7 separate regions of the Homo sapiens genome follow, and all the other regions are linked to region 3. The links are contacts of gene promoters, found by promoter capture Hi-C in blood cells and fetal thymus (Javierre and others, 2016). All regions are on one chromosome and are shown on one strand. Each heading gives the region's core, a stretch centred on a gene start or on the middle of the fragment in contact. The rest is flanking DNA. Distances are from core to core; before and after follow the strand shown. Region 1 overlaps SHQ1 (SHQ1, H/ACA ribonucleoprotein assembly factor). Region 2 overlaps SHQ1 (SHQ1, H/ACA ribonucleoprotein assembly factor). Region 3 holds the start of PROK2 (prokineticin 2). Region 4 overlaps GXYLT2 (glucoside xylosyltransferase 2). Region 5 overlaps SHQ1 (SHQ1, H/ACA ribonucleoprotein assembly factor). Region 6 has its middle 10 kb from the start of GXYLT2. Region 7 overlaps SHQ1 (SHQ1, H/ACA ribonucleoprotein assembly factor).

Region 1 (3,210 bases), core at 180-2,679, 1.0 Mb after region 3:
AGAAACAGGGTCTTGCTTCCTTGCCCAGACAGGTCTTAAACTCTCGGCCTCAAGTGACCCTCCCACCGCAGCCTCCCAAAGTGTGATGGGATTACAGGCTTGACCCACTGTGTCCAACCTCTGATCTCTTTAAATAGAAGGTACATAGAAGACTGGTCCTACCCTGAAGTCCCATCCCATATTCGATGATGTGAAATGAAGCAAATCTGAAGACACATTGGACTGAAATCTAGCACTTGTGCTAGGTATGCAAGTACTACAGACTTTAGTAAAATTTCAATAAAGGAAAAAATTTTTGAACTCAACCAGCAAAGAAAAACAAGCAGATGAGTAGGAAATTCAGGATACTGCATCTCCACAAAGAGGCTAAAAGGGGCTACACACACACACACACACACACACACACACACACACACCATTTTTGGCATGTGCACTCATATTTTCTACCAAGATAAAATCTATTTTATTAAGATACTAATTTTAAAGTTCCTTAAACTACTGAAGAAGATAAAAGCAACATTTGTAGAGAACAGAAAGCTAATTTTCCTGCACTCTACATTCCTGTTTTAACTAGAAAAATAACAGCCACATTCAAAATACACCTCTCACTCTTGGAGGACACTTATTCAGAAATGATTCTATCTTGCATTCAAAGTTGGAAATTGGTATTCTTGGGAAAAGCATTAACAAGGTATAACTCATGGTGAAAATTTTATTTATATTTTAGTTAACTAGAAACTCAAGGAATTGGTTGCTTTGATACACTGAATTTTCTAACTGATAGTTTTACAACCTTATAGTTGTAAACTATAATCTTATATCAGTTTCTAACTGATAGTTTTCCACAGCCTTCCCTTTCAACTGAGATACTGAAATCACTTAAAAATTAGAAAGATCACAGACAACTTACGGAGTTCTTTGTATGTTCCAGGCACCGCACTAAAAGCTTTGCATCCATTATTTCCTTGAATCCTCACACCATCACTATAGGCATGGGGTACTATCAATATCCTCATTTTACAAAGGTAGAAACTGAGGCTCAGAAAAGTTTTGTATCTTGGCCAAGTTCAGAGAACAAGTAAAAACCATAGCTAGGATGTAGACATACTGAACTCTTACTTCAGACTCCAAGCTCTTAACCAACATAAATATTCCATTTTTATATATGAGGAAATAAAGTACATATTAGACAAAACTGAACAGCTAATATCTTGAAATAGGAATTCTCAATAACAATTTCCAACAGGTGCACAGACATATGAGACAAGGACAAAATAGCTGCTTCATAAACTAATCCTGCTAAGCCTATTTTCTTATTAGCTATCTCTTTCTCCTTAAAGTGAAGGAACTCTTTTGAATTGAAGTTCTACTATAAACTCATCCACAAATCAGAACGTGAGCTTTTTTCTAGGATATGAATTTCAAAGGGATAAACAATAACAATAAATGGCTAAAATGCTAAATAAGTCATTCATTCAACAGAAAGTACTGACATTGTCCCATGTTCCATGATCCATGTTAGGCACTGGAGTTCCATTCATGACAAGACACAGACAGTCCTGGCCCTCACACAACTTACAATCCCATGGGAGAGTCAAGCAATTACAATATAGCAAAATGCTATGACATATCAGCAGTACAGGATTCTAGGGCAAAATAAATTAGAATGACAGGCAAGGACCCTGGAGGATATAATACCTAAACCAATGGTTGAATGATAATGAACAGTTAACCAGATGAAGGGGGTGGGACAGAGTATTCTGTAATGAAAAACTGGTTGGCGAAGGCTAGAAAACAAGAAGGCACATTTAAGGGAAAAAAAGTTGAAAGAAGCTGAACATAATATAGTGGCAACCACCTTGTAAGCCATGTTTAAAAAATCTCAAAGATTATCCCTACCAACTAAACACTTAAAAGCTTTTTACATAGGGGAATGACATTAGCATGGTTTAGAAACATCACTCTTATTGCAGCCTGGAAAATGATTTAAAGGGAGAAACCTGGAGAAGCAGACATAATGGTGGCCTAGGATAAGAGAGTGGCAGTGGACATGGAGAAAAGTGGATGAATCTGACCTATACGTAGATGACAGAACCCTCAGGTTGTAGGGAATGAAGAGCTCGAGGAGTGAAAAATGACACTGAGAATTCTGGCCTCCACAACTCAGTGGACAACAGTGTCCTTCGTTGAGACAGGGAAGCTAACAGACATGAGTGAGAAATAACGACTCCTGCTTGGGATAGGTTGAGTATGACATGCCTTTTTTTAGGATTTACAAACAGACCCATCCAATAGGTAGGTGGACATACAAGTCTGATGCTCAAGACAGAGATATGAGAGTCATAAGCATTTAAACCAAGAAGAGGATAAAATTGCCCAGGAAGAACTGGCACAGTGAGAGAAAAGGGCCTTGGACACCACAGCGCAGAGGACACCAAAGGCAAGAGTAAAGGAGCCTAACTGAAAAGATGCTGTTTTCCTCCCCAAGGGACCATGATGAAGGGAAAAAGAAAACTGGCTTGGTAACATGGTATTTCTACCACCTCCATCCCCCTCCCCACCAAAAACACCTCCAAAATGTTTGATTATTTTGAGTAAAATTTCACTAATACAGTCCTAGTAATCTGAACTGTGGTCTATGCTTGAATTGTCCATGAATTAAGAGTTTCATGAACAAGCGCTGACGGTGACTAATGTTTTACTTTTCATAATAAATTACTTTCAAGTTTTGTCTGTTTTTTCATCTGAGATCTCAATTTTTTTTCAAGACTTTTTTTTTTTTTTTTTTTGAGACAGAGTCTCACTCTGTTGCCCAGGCTGGAGTGCAGTGGCGCAATCTCGGCTCACTGCAAGCTCCGCCTCCTGGGTTCACGCCATTCTCCTGCCTCAGCCTCCCAAGTAGCGGGGACTACAGGCGCCCGCCACCATGCCCAGCTAATTTTTTTGTATTTTTAGTAGAGATGGGGTTTCACCATGTTAGCCAGGATGGTCTCAATCTCCTGACCTCATGACCCACCCCCTCAGCCTCCCAAAGTGCTGGGATTACAGGCGTGAGCCACCATGCCCCGCCTTTTTCAAGACTTTCAAGGTCACTAATTGAACAAGCATTCACTGAATGCCCTCTACGTGCATCATCAGGAAGATGAAGATCTGTAAAACTCACTTCTGCCCTTAAGGACTCCACAATTTAAGGAGAACCATGTACACAAA
Region 2 (3,165 bases), core at 360-2,859, 1.1 Mb after region 3:
AAATATATCAATCATTTTTTAAGAAGTTCCTCAGTATTTCTTTCACATTTTAATAAACTAAGTTAGATTCTTTCCCCAACCAAGAAAGTAGAAATTAGAGATGACTCATCTTTCTATTTGAATACCCCTAGTCACCAACAAAATAGATACTGAAAAAGAAAAGCCATAATAAATAGTAGTTATCACTATTGTTATAACACAAGTTGAGTATCCCTAATCTGAAAATCTGAAATGCTCCAAAATCTGAAACTTTTTGAGCACCAACATGACACCACAAAGTGGAAAACTCCACACTTGACCTCATGTGATGAGTCACAGTCAAAAAGCAGTCAAAACTTGGCTGCATACACAAAAGTATTAAAAAATTACATAAAACTATCTTCTGGCTATATGTATAAGGTGTATATAAAACAAATAAATTTTGTGTTTAAACTTGAGTTCCATCCTCAAGATATCTCATTATGTATGCAAAAATATTCCAAAACTCTAGAAAATCTGAAATTTCATATAAGGGACACTCAATCTGTACAGATAAGGGATACTCAATGGGAAACAATAAAGAAACACAAAACCAATTGATTTTATCAGGCAAATTACTACTTTAAAAAAAAAGCAGAAAGCAAAAGTGTCAAATCTCATCATTATTATGTAGGGATTTACCCCTCTTTTGTACTAAAAGAAATGAAGTGATTGGCTGGGCGTGGTGGCTTACGCCTGTAATCCTAGCACTTTGGGAGGCCGAGGTGGGTCGATCACCTTAGGTCAGGAGTTCAAGACCAACATGGCCAAAATGGAGAAACCCTATATCTACTAAAAATACAAAATTAGCCAGGCATAGTGGTGCACACCTGTAACCCCAGCCAGTCAGGAGGCTGAGGCAGAAGAATCACTTGAACCCAGGAAGGGGAGGTTGCAGTGAGCCGAGATCATTTGCCACTGCACTCCAGCCTGGGCAACAGAGTGAGATTCTGTGTCCAAAAAAAAAAAAAGAAAAAAGAAATGAAGTGATTTCCCTGCTTCCAGTTTTACCCTAGTTCAATCAGTCTTCCACTGAGGCTCCAAAATAATTTTTCTAAAACAGGAATCTAATTGTCACTTTTCTATTTTAAAAAGTGTCTATGGCTGCCTCATGTTGCCTAGATAATTTAAACTTATCAGAAGGGCATATCAGGCCCACTCCATATCATTCCAAACTTGAAATTTGAGCTTCCTTTCTTCCCATGGCCCTCCCCCTTGTTTCCTACTAAATATGATTAAAAACAAAAACAGCTGACAGTCCCAAAAGGCCCAGGACCTTTAATCCCAAGGTTTCCTCAAGCTTCAATACATTTTCAGAATGAAAATCCCTCTAAGCCAGAATAAGGGGTCAGTTTATGGATGAGTTTGTTATAATGGTTACAAACGCTAACTTTAGTGTCAGAATCTGAATTAACTCCTAGATCTGCCATTTACCAGATGTGTAACAACCTTCTTTGTACAAGTTAATTATTCTTCAAGAATCATAAATCCCTCTTCTGTAAAGGGGGGAAATAACAGTAACTATCCAAGCGTTACTATGAGCATGAAATGATAATGCAAAGAGCTTAGTGGCCGGCACAACAGGTGAGCATTCAGAAAATGTGAGCTATTATTACCAGCTCCCTTCCCCTAAACTCTATAAGCCTAGAGTTAAATTCTTACTGCAGAGAAAATTATATTTGCTTACATGGGGCCTCCGCAGCTACAGTCTCCATTCTTCAAGGAGAGGGACCAGGTTTTATTCATCCTTGGTATAGCAAACTGTATGTTCTTTTTTTTTTTTTTTTTAGACAGTCTCGCTCTGTTACTCAGGCTGGAGTGCGATAGCGCAATCTTGGCTCACTGCAACCTTCGCCCCCCAGGTTCAAGCGATTCTCTCACCTCAAGCTTCCCAAGTAGCTAGGACTACAAGCGCGTGCCATCAAGCCCAGATAATTTTTTTGTATTTTTAGTACAGATGGGGTTTAACCATGTTGGTCAGGCCGGTCTCAAACTCCTGACCTCAAGTGATCTGCCCACCTCGGCATCCCAAAGTGCTGGGATTACAGGAGTGAGCCACCACATCTGGGGGCAAACTGTATTATCAAAGAATGCCCATCTCACAGCACTCTTCCCAACCATGAAGGTCTATGTTCCCTCCCCTTAAAATTCAGCAGGCTCTGGGACTGTTTTGATGAATACAATAAAGCAGAAGTGACACAGGAATTAGACCTTTAACATATGAATTTGGGGACAAGAGTTGGGGGGGTGCCCACAAATAATCCATCCACGGCAACGGGTAAATAATAAAGCCTCGTTGTAACACTGTCCTAATAACAAATGAGATAATCCGTATAAAGCACTAACCTGGAGTAAAAATTCAATAAATATTTGCTACCACCATAATCTTCTTCCTATTCTTCACATCTTGGCTTAAATATCGCCTCCCCAGAAAGGCTTTTCCTGACCACTTTATAAAACATGGGCCCTTTTTCATTCTCTATTAGTGCACTTCTTTCTCCTCATAGCACTCACCACAATTAAGTACACTGTTTATTGTTTTCCTCTCCCCAGTGAAAAGTACATGAGGGCAGGACTTTGTCTTGTTCAGCACAATAATACCAACACTGAAACTCAATAAATAAATTAAAGAAATAAGTGAATTAAAAAACTGGAAAGTGCAATAATTCAAATACGGACGTTATATGGTCTAAGGGAAATCTGAGCAAAACTGGTTCAGCAACAGTGAAAAAACCACCTTGACTGGTGGAGAAGGTTTGTACCACAAAAGTACTTGGGTGGGAAAAGTAGGATGCAGCTACACTTCAGAAAGATTAGGAGGATGGATAAAGAGAAGGACAAGAGATTGGCAATACTTTAGGATGAATATGTAGCAGCGGGTTCTGTGGAATGGGGTTAATAGCAGTGCTTATCCCTAAGGATCACCGTCAAAGTTAAATGAGATACACCATCATAAAGCACTTAACGGAACTGCTTGTCCACCACACTACGAGTTATCAGTGTTAGCTGCTACCAAGGTTACGATTCTGCAAGGAGAATAATTTAAACAGATCAAGTGCTGACAGACCCTCACGGAGACTTGGGGGAAACAACCACACTTCAGGGACAAAACCAAACAGAAGAGCAGCAGACAGCAGGGAAGCAGGA
Region 3 (3,488 bases), core at 81-2,580:
CTAATAAATATCACAGAGCTTACAGTTAAATATCTGTTGGATATATACAAATGCTGTCATAGCAAAAGGACTTTCAAAATTCTATAAACCTAATAACTAATATAGAGAAAATAGAGCTTGATTTTTTCAAGACAAAGATACTTCCTTTAAAGTCAAATGATATTATCTATGTATCAACATTTCAAACATAGACGTTTTATTTAAATCCCATTATGTGCACTTAAATATTTGAAGTAATTTAATGAAGGTGTGAAATAATTCCTCACTTAAAAAACAGTAAAGAAGTTGAACAACCAGGAAATGATAGCAGTTTTGCCTTGTTAATGTAAACTAGACTATTTAGTATTGTACTGCAAACCCAATTTTTTCAGATCCACACAAAATTGTTGAGAGTGGGAGAGAACTGAACTAGTTCCTACTTACAGAAAAGATGAAAACATCGTCTCTAAGTTTAAACATCTACACAGCAACCTACTCCATCATTATGCTGGAGCACTGGAGGTGCTTTGCCAGGAATTAGAAATTTAAAACTTTTATGGGGATACCTCAAGACCCTGAGCGCGGGGGAAAGCCCCGGAACCCAGAAGGAAGCTCCCACAATTGCTTTTCAAAGCGCTCACATGGCCCTGGACCAAGCGATTTCAAAGGGTTTCTGCGGAGGACGCATCGGGGAGCAAACTCTTTGACTGTAGGATTAAGACTCTGGGCACTTGGGGAATTCGTCTTGGTCCTTTGCATTTCAGGAAGGGGCCGTCAAATTTTAAGGTTCGAGGTTGGAGAGCCTCCAAAAGTACTTGAGAAGACTCAGAGAGAAACTTCTTTCAGCCTAACAGAAGAAAAATGCGAGGAGTGAGGCCGTGGGTGATGAGGGAGAAGTAAGCGGGAGAAGGTGGTAATAAAGGTGGTGGGCGACATCCTTGTCACTGTTTCTTCCAGGACGCGCCCAGTGTCCCCAGCCGTCTGCTGCTTTTGGATCTGGGTATTTTCCCAAGTGCACCAAGGGGCGACAGGGGCAGGTGTCCCCGCCCAGGGCGACCCTCCCTTTGCCTCTAGCCTGCCCTTCAGGGTCCCCGTCCCAAGCCCCCTGGGCACATCCCAGGCGCGCATCAGGGGCAGACAGGTGCGCCCGGGCCGCTTACCCCGGTGATCACGGCGGCGTCCCCAGCGCGGGGCGTGAGCAGCAGCGGCGGCAGCAGCAAGAGGAGCAGGAGTGGGGCGCAGCACAGGCTCCTCATGGCGCCCTCGGGACTGGGCGGCCGCCGGAGGCAGTTGGGGGCGCGGGGCCCGGGTGCGCTGGGTGGAGCGCGGAGCGGCGGGCGGACGGGCGCGGCGGCTCCCGCGAGCCTCCGGGCCGTTATAAAGGCTAGCCCCGCCGTGACTCACGCCGGCGCCCGCCCGGCAGCACACGCGGGGGGCACGGCGCGGGCACACACCCCACGCCCCACGCGCACACGCGCGCCCGCCTCGGCCCGGCCGGCTCCCAGACGAGCACGTGCTATGCGCGGCCCCCCGCGCCCCCGCCTCGGGCGCCACGCAGGCAGCGCTCCCGGCGGGGCGCCCCGCTCTGCGCCGTTCCCTCCGCCGTCGCCCAGCCACCGCCTTTCGCACGCGCCGGAACCGCTTTTGTGGTCTCCGAGACACTCATTTGCTGTCCTGGTTTCCAAAGCTCCACGTGCTCAGCGCCGAAAACTTGCAAATCATTTGCTGTACAGATGTTTAGGGGTCGCCTACTACGTGCGGGGCGCTGTGGACACATAGGGGGCGGGGGGTGGGTGAGGGGGACACAGCAGCCCCTGAATCCATTCGTTTGTTCAGCAGGTCTATACTGGGCGCCCGCTGCGTGCCAGGTACTGCCACCGGCTCTCTCCTCACGGTGGAATAACTTAACAGAGAAGACAGACATCAATCAAATACCCTGGAAACGTGGAAGGCAGGGGAAAGAACAAAGGGAGAGCAAAATCGCCCCAATCCCACATCACCCGCGACGTGAAAGGATTTGTCCTTCCAGCTGCGGGACTCCTATTTGTTTATTTCAAGTCAGAGGCCTTCCCTTTATGCCCACATCTGTTCCCGACCCTCTCCTCTGATTTTCCTCACATGTATTTCCTCCCCTCTTCAGCCCCGCGCCAGCTCCAGGCACAGCCGTTCAGGGTGATGCCAAAGGGAAATGAGAACGCCTGGTTTCGAGTGCCAGCCTGAGGCCCCTTAAGCCCTAGGTACGCAGCTCTCTCTTCTTTCTTAAACTTTCCAGCCCAGGAAAATCACCCTTCGGTTTTACAGATGCGATAGGGCGTTATTGTGATTCCTTCATTCACGTAAACATGAATTGAGTGTCTAGTGGGTTCCAGGCACACCAGGAAAGAATAAGTGACAGATTTGCCCTCCATCTCTCATCCTAGCCTGGCTCCAAAAACTGCAGCCTGTTTCCCTCAACAAAAATGACGTCAAGAATACCTAGATGTGACCACACCGAACTTGCTTGCCCGTTTTGGGAAACCCAACTTTCTTCCTGAATAGTCAGAACCTCTGGCTTTCCTGGTCTCTTAAGAACCGCAAACTATTGAAAAGCAGATGCGTCTTTCAGCCTCTTTAATAAATGCAGTAAGGAGAGTTGGGACAGAGTTACTTTCAGACTGTGGGGCTCCCCCGTGCCAAAGCATTCAGACGAAATGTGGGGGATAGCGGGGGGAAGGCAGGCAATTATCTGAATGTTAAACAGCTGAATATTTGGAAACCCCAATCTTTGGCTGATTTTTAAAAACCTTTTTCACACGTGTTCTCATGTTTAAAAAACGCCTTGAACAGAAAACACAAAAGGAGTCAAACCCTTTTTTCAACTTAAAAAAATGTTAAAATTGGACTCACAGTGGAGTAAGTAGAAACAGTAGCAAGTGACAGACTTGTGGAAAGTTTCCTTTTCCAGTCTCCATGCCAACGCTAGCTCGGGAATGCTGCCGGGTAAATGTAAAAACCAGTCAACATGGATTTTAACATTCCTATGACTTTCTTTTAATGGTCTATTTCATATTCGCTACTATTGAATGCCAGCTTGGGTATTCCCTGCTTCTTCAAGCATAGAAAATATGATATGTCTACACAGGAAAAATCAGATTTCAAAAGTGGCTGGCTTCTTACACAGCTGTTTGGAAAACAGTCCTCATAAGGCTGTTTTGAAACAAGTTTAAAAAAAAGAAATAAGTTTGGAAACACTTAAAAATAGGGTTGTTTAGTTTCATGTTCTTTTGGAAATTTTAATTGCTTTAATGCTTTAGGAGAGAAATGAAGGCTCTTGATATGTCATCTTTGTATCTGAGGCCAAGTTTGAAAAATGAAGTCTGACTTCAATTGTTATAAAGGGAAAAATGAAAAAAAAAAAGAGTTTGGATTAGTCCATTAAAAAAGGTAGTTGGGACAACTTAGCAACAATGACATAGAAATGAAACAGTAGTTTATTGATTCTTTTCTATTACTGTAACCTGTTGATATTG
Region 4 (3,342 bases), core at 309-2,808, 1.1 Mb after region 3:
CTAAGCCTGTCAATACATTCATTTCTCTGCCAACAGCTATTGGTCCACAGGTATGTCATATGACCCAAACTGGCCCAATCAGCCAGAAGGAAAGAACTTATTTTACATTATTAAACAAAAGACTCCATCTTCTAGATACAACCAAGGAAATAAATAGCCCCAGCTGCCACCATATTCATAAGGGAATCGCCTTTAGGATGAAGCCATCTGTTTGGGCAGTAGAAAAAGAAAATACAGGTCCTTGAGGACACTGCTGAGTCCCAGAATCAAGGCATCCTGAGGTCTAACGTTTCTTGGGCCCTGTGTTGGAGTTGAGGGTTCTGTTACTGCATCCAAAATCATCTTAGCTGAACTAGATGGTTCTTTTAAATCAAAATCTTGGGACTATTGATGGAGAGAAAGGGGAATAGTTGGGTGGGGGCACCCAGGAAGTGAGCATCCACCACACCCTAGAGCAGCCGTTATGTGCACTTGACTTTATCAAAACCTGCGGGTGACTTACCAGAGGTAGGTTCCTGAGCAAAATCAGACTTTTCTTAAGGATTTTTAAAAATTGGGATCAGAGACTATATGGTAAATGTACCTGATAGCAATAGCTTGAGCATACCCTTAGAATGACCCTGCATGCCAGCCGCACCTGAATGTGTGTTCCAACCTAGGGAATCCTGGAGTGGCCAACCCAGAGAGTCAGTCTTACATTCAGTGAGGAACATCTGAGCCCTCGTCCTGCCCCGTGGAACACGGGCTATACAGGGGATTAAGGCCTTGAGTTTTGGGTTGCATGAAGATTGCCAGGTGGAGGTTGTTGAGGGGAGGATGGCAAGTGAAAACGCTATAATATGTAAACTGCACACCTTTTGCAAACAATTGTGGTTCTTCTGCCCAGCCCTTCCCCACTGGGCTGTGCAGTCATCTTGTCCAACCCACTGCCACTGGACTGTATGTAAGGCGGTCCTCCTGCCCAGCCCATTGCCACTGGACTCTCTCCCCTGTATGGAAGCCCCCAGTAAAACGCCAGGTCTCGTTTGCTGGCTCTGGGTCTTTTCTTCAGCCTCTTGAACCTGGTGCTTTCCCCATTGAGGTTAATAGGGGTTTGGCACAACAGAGGGCTAAGGGAACAGCGTAAGGGCAAACTGTTTCTAGTGGCTGAAGCTTTACATTATGCAACTCAGGGATTGCAACTGTATTTCTGCCAGTGGAGAAGGCTGTTCTGCAATAGGAGCTCATGAAAACCAAGATGATATGGAGAGATGAGAAGTGACGCAGAGCAACCCAGATGGGGTAGGGCGGAGTGGGGTCAGGTGGGCTGGTGGCGGGGTTGGGGGGCAGCTCCCAACACTGTTCCCAAGGCCAGCTTCTTGCCTTTCACTGGCTGTGCTGTCTCAACCTTTTCTAGATTCTGTGATGTAATGAGTTCCCCTTTTTTTCTTAATCTAGTTTGACTTGCATTTGTTACTTGCTACCAGAGAGTCCTGACTAATTTGAATATGTAGCACCTGCTTTTAACACCTTTACTAAATTCAGTAAATATTGGCCATATTGACACGGTTCCTTTTAAAACTCACAGGTGAGAGTCTTTGGAAGAGAATTTGAGAACAGATTTGTTTTCCTTAGGAATACTTCATTTATAATTCACTGTAAAGAAAAAAAAGACAAAATTTTATGTTGTATGTATTTTAGCACAATTTTACAAATAATAAAAAGAAAAGAGACTTCTGTTGAAGATAGAATTCATTTATTCATTTTATGTTTCCCTTAAATATTCCCCAGCATTTATTTCAAATTATGAAGTTCCGAAAACTCCTCTTGGAAAAAGAAGTTTTTTGACATGATACCTTCATTGGGAGTTGCTGATTTTGTGCCAGAAAAGAGTAACCTTGATATATTTCAAGTGACTTTTAGATGATCCCCCATCTCTTTTAGCAACATGAGAGACTGTAATCTCATATGGTACAATTTATAATCCAAGCTTTACATAAGACAATAGAGAATACATAATCCAAAATATGGCTCTCTTTTATGAGTCAGAAAACTGAGATCCGAGAGGTGAAATAATAATGTACATAAAGCACCTAGCACAGTAGATTAGCTCATAGGAGTCACCAAATGATTTGCTGTTCTGGGTACTATTATTATCCATCATTGCATTAGGAATTGAGCCATAACTAGACCCAGCTAAGTACCCGCGTGACTTTGAACAAGTCGGTCCTCAGCAAATTGTGGCTTTCTCAGAAATAAGCTCAGTGACAAAATGAGACAATGCAGGTAAAGTGCTGACACCGAACATGCCACACCAGAAACTCCCAGCAAGTGTTAGCAAGGGCTAAGCTACAGATTCAAGGCTGGGCCTGGTGGCTCATGCCTGTAATCCCAGCACTTTGGGAGGCTGAGGCAGGAGGATTGGTTGAGCCCAGGAGTTAGAGACCACCCTAGGCAATATAGTGAGACACCCATCTCTATTTCAGTTTTATATCTTTTAAAAAAGATGCAGATTCAAGCAGCCTTTTCTTGTGGGGGTAGGTATGACTTGAGGAAACTGAGACTCAGCTTCTATATATAATAAAGGATACACCAATCTCAGTCTCCTGGTACTCATTAAAAGCTGAAGGAGTGTGGCCAGGCGCGGTGGCTTAAGACTGTAATCCCAGCACTTTGGGAGGCTGAGGCGGGCAGATCGCTTGAGATCAGGAGTTCGAGACCATCCTGGCCAATATGGTGAAACCTGGTCTCTACCAAAAATACAAAAATTAGCCGGGCATGGTGGCAGGTGCCTGTAATCCCAGCTACTCTGGAGGCTGAGGCAAGAGATATTGCTTGAACCCGGGAGGCAGAGGTTGCAGTGAGCCGAGATAGCGCCACTGCACTCCAGCCTGAGTGACAGAGTGAGACCTTGTCTCACATTAAAAAAAAAAAAATGTTTACTAGCAGTTCAAATCCGTTTTGTAGTAAGGTAGAATGTTGACACATAAAATAACATGCTTTTTGCTGCCCTGCCTAGCCTGGTTTTGGCATGGATATAACATATTTAGAGAAAAATGAAGGCTTTTGATGAATGTCATGTTAATAGTAATAATGATGATGATAACTAATATTGAATGATGACTTAAAATATGCCACGTACCTTATTAAGCACTTCACTGCATTATTTCACTTAATCTTCATAATAACCTAGGAGGTAGGAACTCATATTGGATAGGGCAGAACTCTTTCAGTTGCACGTGATAGAATACCAGCTCATCTGTTTGTATCACTTAGTCATAAAAGGGGTTTTAACTGGCTCATAAAACTGGAAAGTGCAAAGAGATAAAGCTTCAGTCGCAAGTGAAGCCAGGATTTCTAACA
Region 5 (3,509 bases), core at 751-3,250, 1.0 Mb after region 3:
AATTCTTACAAACCTTTCAGCTCTCAGCTTAAACTCTTCCTCTGGAAGCCTTTTCCTACAGCCCTGTGTCCTCTTAGATGCTTCCACAGCTCCCATACTTGCCCACTGTAGCCGCTATTGGGTATAATACATTACATCTGCATTTCCCACTAGAAGACCAACTTCACAACGACGTGTCTCTCTTGTTCACCACAGTATTCCCAGCACCTATCTCACCACCTGGCACATAATAGAGCTCAATAACTACTGGTTGAAAAAAAATACATGACTCCACTTTTACATGCAATTCTGATGTTGCACCTCTGCATATGAGTCTCTCTCACTACCTCATTTTGGCAGAGGAACCAGGAACAACAGAGAGCCAGAAGGAAGAGATGTATGTTATCTACCCTGTTCTTAGCATAATCCTATCCCCTTCAAAAGCACATGCACATAGAAAGCAACTCAAGAATCTAAAGCAATCATAAGGTCTTAAGCTTTCTAAAATTTTAGAACTTCAGTGCTGAAATGACTTAGGTTTACTTACAACTGAGGAAATTAAGGTTCATGACTTATGAAATGACAGATAACTATCTTGTGATATAGCTGTTTCCCTCTACAAACTTCCCACATTAGTGTCCAAAAGGTCAGAAGATTTCAGCAAAAAAAGTTAATTGCACTATTAGAGTTAATTAACCATTAATCAGTTTAATGCAAAGAGGGTTTAGAATTTCAAAAACACTTTTTTTCTTTTTCCCCAGAACTACCTACTTAAAAAAACTATACTAGAGAGGAAAAGTGTGATTTAACATCTTAATTACAGGTTCACATTTGTACTGATAAGAGTCAGGATTTTAGATTTTAGTTTCATTTAAAAACAATAAAATTTTTCCATGTAGCAAAAACAAAAGAACACCGTTCTTGATCCCTTGTCATTTCAAAATGTGCTATGTATTAAAACCATACAGTTTTAATGTGAAATTTTCTCAGTGAGCATATATGTACTCTTTTTATAATGAGGAATAAATTAGTTACTTAAAAAAAACTCTGTAATGGATATTATGTTATAAAGGGAAATGGTTTATAAGGTATTATCATGAGTATAAAACAGGCTACAGAATGGTATGTGCAGTATTGCTTCCACTGGTTTAAAAATGCATTGGGGCTCTCCCTCTCCCCCTCCCCCTCCCTCTCCCCTCTCCCTTTGCACGGTCTCCCTCTGATGCCGAGCGGAGGCTGGACTGTACTGCCGCCATCTCGACTCACTGCAACCTCCCTGCCTGATTCTCCTGCCTCAGCCTGCCAAGTGCCTGGGATTGCAGGCGTGCGCCGCCACGCCTGACTGGTTTTCATATTTTTTGGTGCAGACGGGGTTTCGCCGTGCTGGCCGGGCTGGTCTCCAGCTCCTGACCGCGAGTGATCTGCCAGCCTCAGCCTCCCGAGGTGCCGGGATTGCAGACGGAGTCTCGCTCACTCAGTGCTCAATGTTGCCCAGGCTGGAGTGCAGTGGCGTGATCTCGGCTCGCTACAACCTCAACCTCCCAGCTGCCTGCCTTGGCCTCCCAAAGTGCCAAGTTTGCAGCCTCTGCCCGGCCGCCACCCCGTCTAGTAAGTGAGGAGCGTCTCTGCCTGGCCGCCCATCGTCTGGGATGTGAGGAGCCCCTCTGCCCGGCCGCCCAGTCTGGGAAGTGAGGAGTGTCTCTGTCTGGCCGCCCATCGTCTGGGATGTGAGGAGCCCCTCTGCCCAGCCGCCCAGTCTGGGAAGTGAGGAGCGCCTCTGCCCGGCTGCGACCCCATCTGGGAACTGAGGAGTGTCTCTGCCCCGCCGCCACCCCATCTGGGAGGTGAGGAGCATCTCTGACCAGCCGCCCCGTCTGAGAAGTGAGGAGCCTCTCTGCCCGGCAGCCGCCCTGTCAGGGAAGTGAGGAGCGTCTCCGCCCGGCAGCCGCCGCGTCCGGGAGGTAGGGGGGGCGCCTCTGCCCTGCCGCCCCGTCGGGGAAGTGAGGACCTCCTCTGCCCAGCCGCCACCCCGTCTGGGAGGTGTACCCAATAGCTCATTGAGAACAGGCCATGATGACGATGGCAGTTTTGTCGAACAGAAAAGGGGGAAATGTGGAGAAAAGAAAGAGAGATCAGATTGTTACTGTGTCTGTGTAGAAAGAAGTAGACATAGGAGACTCCATTTTGTTCTGTACTAAGAAAAATTCTTCTGCCTTGGGATGCTGTTAATCTATAACCTTACCCCCAACCCCGTGCTCTCTGAAACATGTACTGTGTCCACTAAGGGTTAAATGGATTAAGGGCGGTGCAAGATGTGCTTTGTTAAACAGATGCTTGAAGGCAGCATACTCGTTAAGAGTCATCACCACTCCCTAATCTCAAGTACCCAGGGACACAAACACTGCAGAAGGTGGCAGGGCCCTCTGCCTAGGAAAACCAGAGACCTTTGTTCACATGTTTATCTGCTGACCTTCCCTCCACTATTGTCCTATGACCCTGCCAAATCCCCCTCTCCGAGAAACACTCAAGAATGATCAATAAACACTAAAAAAAAAAAAAAAAAGAAAAATAAACTTGTTACATATTTAAAAAATGCATTGGGAAACAAATACAGGAAATATCAAAATACTAATATTGGTTGAATTAGATTAAGTGACAAAGTGACTTGCTAAGGTCATACGGTCAATGAGAAGTAGAGCTGGAATGTATTACAGTTCATTATTTTCTATCCCACCTTATATAAAAAGGTGCCAACTATTTGAATGCAAGGACTTTTTTGCTTATCTGTAGTGATGGATATCATAAAAATTATGCATGGATCTTTTTTTTGGTCCATGCTATCATTAGTGTTAGTGTATTTTATGCGTGGCCCAAGACAATTCTTCCAGTATGGCCCATGGAAGCCAAAGGGTTGGATACCATGGAACTGTTAAATTTCAGAGGGTCAGAACTATCACTGCTACTGATGGCAGCCCACCAGCAAAGAATGGGGCAACTTGTATATGTAGCTGAAATACCAATAAAAATAAGTTAGAATTGATTTATATTTTTAAAGTGCTACATTTAAAACAAAAATGAAAAACGTTCCTTTAATCCGGTCTAATAGGTATCATTCAATTTGAGTAAAACTGATTGTGCTCACAAACTGTGATGGGTCCAGACAGGTGCTTATTCACATAGACCTTAGCATTTTAGAGGGGAAAGAGATACACATCTAGATTCCTACAATATAAGGCAGGCATGAGAGGTGCCCAATGATCTCTCAACCAAGTGCTATGGGAACATCCATGAGAAAGACAGATGTTTCATTCATTCCTTTTCCTATAGGAAAATCTCTCTGAAGAAAGGGCTTTTATCTTTTTTCTTCCACATGGTATGGGTGGAGACAACTGGTTGCATAAGTGGCATATCTTGAAAAATATGAAATCTGGAACCAGAAGACCTGACCTATCTCTTATAAGACATATAACCTCAAACAAATCACTTTCTAAGGCTGCCAACCACAGAACATTTGCTGTAGTGAGCACCAC
Region 6 (3,106 bases), core at 243-2,742, 1.1 Mb after region 3:
ACAGACTGAGTTATTTATTTATTTATTTATTCATTCATTCATTCATTTATTCATTTAGAGACAGGGTCTTGCTCTGTTGCCCTGGCTGGAGTAAAGTGGTGCAATCATAGTCCACTGCAGCCTTGACCTTCCGGACTCAAGCAGTCCTCTCACCTGAGCCTCCCAAGTAGCTGAGAGACCACAGGCACAAGCCACCACATCCAGCTAATTTATTTTTATTTTTTTAGAGATACAGCCTTCCTGTGTTGCTCAGTCTGGTCTCAAACTCCTGGGCTCAAGTGATCCTCCTGTCTCAGCCTCCCAAAGTGCTAGGATTACATCCTCCCACCTCAGCCTCCTAATGTTCAGGAATTAACACATGTGAGCCACTACATCCAGCCCATTTTCAAATAACACTGTATCATTTCGCTGGTAATGCAAATGTCTTTTTTTTAAACAGTTTTTTTTAAACAAAAAATGACTTCAAATTTTAACTCTTTTTTAAAAGCATTAAGACCCTTATTGTAGATTATGTATCATCTCCTCTTTAGCTATGAGATGTGTAGTTTTGTTAACTAGAGACATTAATGAGTTCAGTTTCTGAGACCAGTCATTTCATAAATTATTTGGATCCTTGGGTCTCTGGAAGTTGTTAATTCCTGCTAATCTGTCTACTTTAGCAAATATGGTCTTGTTAACTACTAGATTTGAGAGAAAGGCTTCGGACTCATCAACAGATAGATCCAGAAGCTGTACCATCCTTTTCATTGTCATCCGAGTATAATACTTGGCCATTATTCTAATATTATGTTCAACAACTCTGTTATTCAAATCTTTCCACCTTTTTTCGCCTTCCTCTGTAGAACCAAAAGCATCAGTTGCAGGACTGCCAACGGAACCTTTTCTTAATTCCATTCCATAGTCCTCCACAAGTGTGGACCAACGCATCAACTCCATTGTGGTAAAAAGCTTTAGAAGATCCTTGTATTTGGGAATTTCTTCTGACTTCTTGTCACCACTTATTCAGTGAACCAAATCTGACTGTTCATTGTCAAAAGGAGCCAGGGTAACATAGGGTACAACACTCTTCATAGCCTGCTGCCATTTTTCACTTTCTGCCTGTATACAGGGAGTATTATATATTGCTCTGTAGTGCTTACAAATAAACAAATAGGATCCCTCATGTTCATCCAGCTGAGTCATTAAATTATCGTACTTCAACTTTAATTTCGCTGTATTTTCTTCCTGGAAAAACTTGGTATTAATTTTCTTACTGATGATTTATGTTCGAATGTAATCCTTTACAGCTAGGCAGAGCCTCATTTGCTCCAAAATAAATTCCACTTGCTCTTTCTTTTACATTGATCCATAGGTTTCCACCTGTAGCTCCTATAAACGGAGGCTGCCTCTTTCACATCACCATTTTGTTCTTTTATAGTTGCTAATGTTTTAGTCAGTCGAGCACACTCAATTTCAACATAAATCTTGCCTTCGGTAACCATTCATAGAGTATCAGTTAATTGAAGTTTGATAGGAAGGTCTGTGATTTCCTCAACATAAATACAGTACTATTGAACCATTTTGGCAACAGCTTGTATTAACTGACTCCGCCTTTTGGACAAAAGTGTAATATTTTCATTAAGTAAATCCCATTCTTTAGCCTCATAGCACATCTTCACTACTGCAACTAAGATTTGGGATGTTGACCCCATATCAGAAGCAGTACGAGTCTGTTTTTCCAAAGAGAGAAGGGTTTCCATGACTTCTTGAAGTCTTCCTTCCTTGGCCAGCTTCTCACACTCGGGTAGGCACTGATCTACCGTGGCGTTGTAGTCCACTTCCATTTTGAATATGCGCCCGTCAGCCTGCTGCAAGTGGCCGTCTGCCATGGTCTCTGCCTGAGTGTCCCTTGCTGTCCCCCTGCTTTGGCCACCACTCATCACCCACACCGGAAGCTGCCCGCGCACCTGCTCCGCAAATGTCTTATAATAACAAAATATTCCTAATACTTCCCTCCCATCCCTTGTGTTATTACTGTCATTCCTTCCACTTATACATAAGCTTTAATCATCAAATACATTGTTATTATTTTGAACAAACCTTTTGTTATATCAATTAAGAATTTTTAAAAATATGTGTTGTATTTTATCTTCACTTATTCATTCTCTTAAGCTCTTCCTTTCTTTATGTAGATCCGAGGTTTGGACCTACATCATTTTCCTTCTCTCTGAAGAATTTCTTTTCACGATTCCTGCAAAGCAATTATACTGGCAACAAATTCCCTCAATTTTTGTTTGTCTAAGAAATTCTTTATTTCTCCTTCACTTTTGAAGGATAATTTATCAGGATACAGAGTTCTAGACTCGTGTTTTTTTTTTCTTCAACACTTCATGTATTTCCTTACTCTGTTCTCGCTTGCATGATTTCTGAGGAGAAGTCAGATGTAATTCTCATCTTTACTCCTTTACAGTTAAGATTTTATTTTCTGACTTCTTTCAAGTTTTTTTCTTTACCTTTGATTTTATGCAGTTTAAATATGATATGCCTAGGTATAGTCTCTTTCTTTCTTTTTCTCTTTCACACTTACATTGCTTAGTTTTCTGAGCTTCTTGGATCTGTGGCTTAGGGTCTGCTATGGTTTGAATATGGTTTGTTTGTCCCTGCCAAAACTCGTGTTGAAATTTAATCTTCAATGTGGTGGTGTGGGGAGATGGGACCTCCTGGGAGGTGTTTGGGTCAAGGTGGCAGATCCCTCATGAATTGCTTGGTGCTGTTCTTGTGGGTGTAAGTGAGTGCTCACTCTGGCGAGACTAAATTCATTTTTGAGAAAATGGATTTGTTCCCTCAAAAGTGGGTTATTATAAAGCCAGAATGCCCCTTGGGTTTTCTCTCTGGATGTGTCTACTTCCCCTTTTACTTTCTCCGCCATGTTATGACACAGTGCAAAAGCCTTTGCCAGAAGCCACACACCCTTAACTTCCTAGCTTACAGAACATTAAGCTAAGTAGGCTGAGCACAGTGGCTCACGCCTGTAATCCCAGCACTTTGGGAGGCTGAGGCGGATGGCTCACTTAAAGTCAGAGTTCGAGTCCAGCCTGGGCAAGATGGTGAAACCCAGTCTCTATTA
Region 7 (3,283 bases), core at 658-3,157, 1.0 Mb after region 3:
AGGAGACTGGGAACATAGACTTGTACTCCAAGGAAGAGACAAGAGTAAAAAGAATTCACTTTGCCTCATGGAAGGAGAATCCGGAGTTCTCCCTTTCAAACATTCAGCAGCAGTTCATGATTTCCAGGAGTTAACTCCTGCTGTACTCTGAAGTTCTCTCCTTTCTTCGATAAGTTGGTATGTAAAATGGTCAGCAAAAACAGGTACAAATGCTACTTCAGTATCTGACTTTAATTCCATGCTAGTTTCTGAGAGCACTATGATTGTTCTATTCTTAGAAACATTAACTGGTATGGGGAATTAAGCCAGAAAAAAAAAGTTCAAGAACAATTTAGAATAGGAGGAAGAAAACACAAGGAATTACAATCTCCCGGGTGAGGAGCAGGGAATTAAGCAATAATATTTAAAAAGTAGAGACATAAATTCCAGTGACCAGTTAACTCAGATAGGAAAGAAACTATCAACTAGTTTTAGAGGCTGTAGAGCAAATCTCAGCATCAGATAGCATATCGATTTTCCATCATCTAATTCCAACAAACACATTTTCATAGCAGAAACTACACTATCCCATGAACCTCCTCACATGGTTTACTCACAATGTTTACAACATTCCCTCCATCCTTCAAGTCCCAATTCAAATCTCACAGCCTCTATGAAAATTTCCCTGACCCCTAGTGAAATGTGTCGTCTCTCTCTTTTTTGAACTACTTAATCCACATTTCTTGTAAGGCACTTACCACGGCTGACTATATATTTTATGTTACTGATGGACATCTTAGCTCCCTAGGTAGTGAACACGCTCCCCGGCTAGTGAACACGTCCCCAAATACAGCCCACACATCTAAATTATTTTTCTAGTGCTCTTTATATTTACAGGGTGCTTTGTATGGACTGGCTCCTGAGTAGGCATACATTCAAAATATGTGTTGAACAAATCAATGAATAAATGAACTCATCAAGCAATTAACAAGTACTTGAGGGTGTTAGGAAACTAGTAGGAGCTGAGAATTAGAGGTCAAATAAGGCAGAGGCTCCCACAGTAGGAAGTTACATGTCTTCAGTGACTTAAATGTAGGTCAGTTTCCCTGGCTTATATTTTCACTCTCCATATTTCTCTTTTGAGCTACTTATTACAAATGCAATTTTTCAAAAACCCTGGTAGTTGTGTAATTCTGTGCCCTGTGCCCCCATTAGAACTATTATATCTTCAGGATCCAGCTCAGCAGCCTCACATGGCAGGTTCTCAACAAATACTTGTTGAATAAATCTCAAAATAGTTTCATACAATGTATTTAAAGAGTAAAAATTAAAAGGCCTAACAATTCTTTAAAATGTCCAGAACTGGGAACTTACAGAAGTTAAATATAGATAAATGTCAACACTGGAAAATGGCAGTGATTTCATCTTTTAGTTTTCGAGTTTGCAATATCTCCTCTACAATTCAATTTTTTTAAAAGTCATTTGCTAAACTGACTCTGGAATAAATAAAATGTAAATATTAAAAAGAAATTCACCTTTAAAGTCTCCTCCAAACTTGGAGCTCATACAATACACTTGCCAAACCTCAATGTTTTAAACATCCATTATTCTTTTAAAAAATTGATCAGTCACAAGCCCTGTGCTTGGTACCATAGCTCTTCTTTCCTTTCTCATTGATTGTGTTATTTTATCTATGGAAGAGGTTAGTAAAGCAGTAATTTCTGAAAATTTGTTTATTGAGCCCAATTAATAATTGATAAGTAAGGGCTATTAATTACCTGAAGTAATACCTGGTTTTAATTGGGGACAACAACTAAACTCCTGAAGGCTGTTTCTTGGGTTACTACCTGCTAGGTAGCTACTATTCATCAGACTTCACATGTTATTAGAAAGTAGGTTTCTATTAACCTTAAAAACAAAACAGCAAATAGAAAGAACAATTGTATACGTTTTTCTTAGCCAAAAAAATTTAGAAAACTGTCCAAATATTAATAGAAATCATGTTTTCCACAAAATGGTGGATAAATTCAAATTTGAAACTTGGTAGTATGGTGGTTAAGAGTCCAGACTTAAGGAAAAAAAAAGACTTTGTCTAAAGGAAAATCACAACATGTACAAAAATAGGGAAGACAGTATCATGAATCCCACATACTCATCACCCAGGCAGCAATCAACTTGTAGCCAACCTTGTTTCAGCTACACCCCACCCACTTTCCCACAACCCACTCTGGACTATTTTGAAGCAAATTCCAGGCTTCATATAATTTCATTTATAACTATTTCAATATATGTAAGTGCACAGACTCTAAGTTACACAGATCTGGAGTCAAATCTAGGCTCTCCCACCTACTAGCTGTAAGACCCTGGGCCACTGACTTCACTTCTTTGAGCCTGTCTTCTATTTGCAAAATGGGGATAGTAATGCCTGCTTCACAGGACTGCAATATGAGCAAAATGAGATATGGTATCTAAAGAACTGAACCTAGCGCTGGCACACAGAAGGTAGCTAACACACGCAGCTGTGGTTATTATTAACAAACTAGCCAAACCAGAGCTACCTCTATTTAAATTATGGGGTGTCCGAACAAACGAGCCTCTTCAGTGGCAATAATGGCATCCCTGTGCCATCCACCTGTATGTATTATTAACACATCAGGACAGAACTCTGACTCTTTTCTAATGAGGCTCACAAAGAAAATAACTGGTATCAAGTATCCCTTTATTTTAAAGAGATGCTAACCTCTCTATGCTGAACTTGTAGAGAGAGAAACTAAAAATGATTTGTAATTCATTCACTGAATATTCACCTTCAGGAGCTTAAGAGTAAAGAGGTCCAGAAAAAATGTCCATGGATAAAGGTGGTGTGGGTGCAGGAAGGAGGTGCTTTTCTGTTACCTTAAACCAAGAGAAAGGGGGTTTTAAGAGGCCCTAAGAGAGTACAACCTGCTTACCCTGGAAATTTTAACCGTAGATACCAACTGGAGAGTACAAAGATTGGTGTCTGGCTTCCATTAAGAAGCAGGACAGAGCAACATGGGGTGGCCAAGTGGAGGTAAGTGGTATGTCCTGCCAAAGTGAAAGGGGTCCTCCTCCCTGCCGCTGGTCACCCACCCTCAGGCAGGTCCCAGCTGGGGAAGGGAAGAATTTCTTTTGTAATGAAGTTCAAAGTGGACATTTTAAGCACTGAAATTAGACTCCTCTTGTGACTAGAAGTGGTAAAAGAACTTTTTTAAAATCTAAAGTGATAGAAAAAGTTATAGGATATATATTATAGGAGACAAATATATGATATGATATATATAGG

What was found. Contacts are between HindIII fragments. The CHiCAGO score rates a contact against its expected background, and 5 or more counts as called.
Region 1: a fragment that was not itself captured here is called in contact with the fragment with the promoter of PROK2 in region 3 in 7 of 17 cell types (naive B cells, total B cells, erythroblasts and 4 more); the score reaches 11.8 in naive B cells.
Region 2: a contact is called between a fragment that was not itself captured here and the fragment with the promoter of PROK2 in region 3, in 3 of 17 cell types (erythroblasts, naive B cells and neutrophils). The highest score is 6.5, in erythroblasts.
Region 4: a fragment that was not itself captured here is called in contact with the fragment with the promoter of PROK2 in region 3 in 1 of 17 cell types (naive B cells); the score reaches 5.7 in naive B cells.
Region 5: a fragment that was not itself captured here is called in contact with the fragment with the promoter of PROK2 in region 3 in 2 of 17 cell types (total B cells and naive B cells); the score reaches 8.2 in total B cells.
Region 6: a fragment that was not itself captured here is called in contact with the fragment with the promoter of PROK2 in region 3 in 1 of 17 cell types (naive B cells); the score reaches 5.7 in naive B cells.
Region 7: a fragment that was not itself captured here is called in contact with the fragment with the promoter of PROK2 in region 3 in 1 of 17 cell types (total B cells); the score reaches 5.1 in total B cells.

The regions. Positions count from the first base shown.
Region 1 is chr3:72,824,984-72,828,193 of GRCh38, forward strand. The region is part of intron 5 of SHQ1 (SHQ1, H/ACA ribonucleoprotein assembly factor); the gene reads right to left. Among named protein-coding and RNA genes, the nearest start is that of SHQ1, 22 kb to the right of the region's middle. The HindIII fragment of the contact is 971 bases long and covers 945-1,915 here.
Region 2 is chr3:72,844,510-72,847,674 of GRCh38, forward strand. The region is part of intron 1 of SHQ1 (SHQ1, H/ACA ribonucleoprotein assembly factor); the gene reads right to left. Among named protein-coding and RNA genes, the nearest start is that of SHQ1, 2.4 kb to the right of the region's middle. The HindIII fragment of the contact is 587 bases long and covers 1,317-1,903 here.
Region 3 is chr3:71,783,818-71,787,305 of GRCh38, forward strand. It overlaps PROK2 (prokineticin 2), which reads right to left and starts at 1,331. Exons shown (of 4, transcript NM_001126128.2): 1 at 1,140-1,331. The coding sequence starts at 1,235. It overlaps LOC105377156 (a long non-coding RNA gene), which reads left to right and starts at 1,573. Exons shown (of 4, transcript NR_199161.1): 1 at 1,573-1,706; 2 at 1,819-1,930; 3 at 2,120-2,216; 4 at 2,400-2,610. The HindIII fragment of the contact is 4,477 bases long and covers 1-3,488 here.
Region 4 is chr3:72,893,953-72,897,294 of GRCh38, forward strand. All of the region lies in intron 1 of GXYLT2 (glucoside xylosyltransferase 2), which reads left to right. Among named protein-coding and RNA genes, the nearest start is that of GXYLT2, 7.6 kb to the left of the region's middle. The HindIII fragment of the contact is 817 bases long and covers 1,151-1,967 here.
Region 5 is chr3:72,786,557-72,790,065 of GRCh38, forward strand. The region is part of intron 10 of SHQ1 (SHQ1, H/ACA ribonucleoprotein assembly factor); the gene reads right to left. Among named protein-coding and RNA genes, the nearest start is that of SHQ1, 60 kb to the right of the region's middle. The HindIII fragment of the contact is 3,053 bases long and covers 475-3,509 here.
Region 6 is chr3:72,876,235-72,879,340 of GRCh38, forward strand. It overlaps the pseudogene PSMD12P1. Among named protein-coding and RNA genes, the nearest start is that of GXYLT2, 10 kb to the right of the region's middle. The HindIII fragment of the contact is 1,092 bases long and covers 947-2,038 here.
Region 7 is chr3:72,806,138-72,809,420 of GRCh38, forward strand. All of the region lies in intron 9 of SHQ1 (SHQ1, H/ACA ribonucleoprotein assembly factor), which reads right to left. Among named protein-coding and RNA genes, the nearest start is that of SHQ1, 41 kb to the right of the region's middle. The HindIII fragment of the contact is 9,648 bases long and covers 1-3,283 here.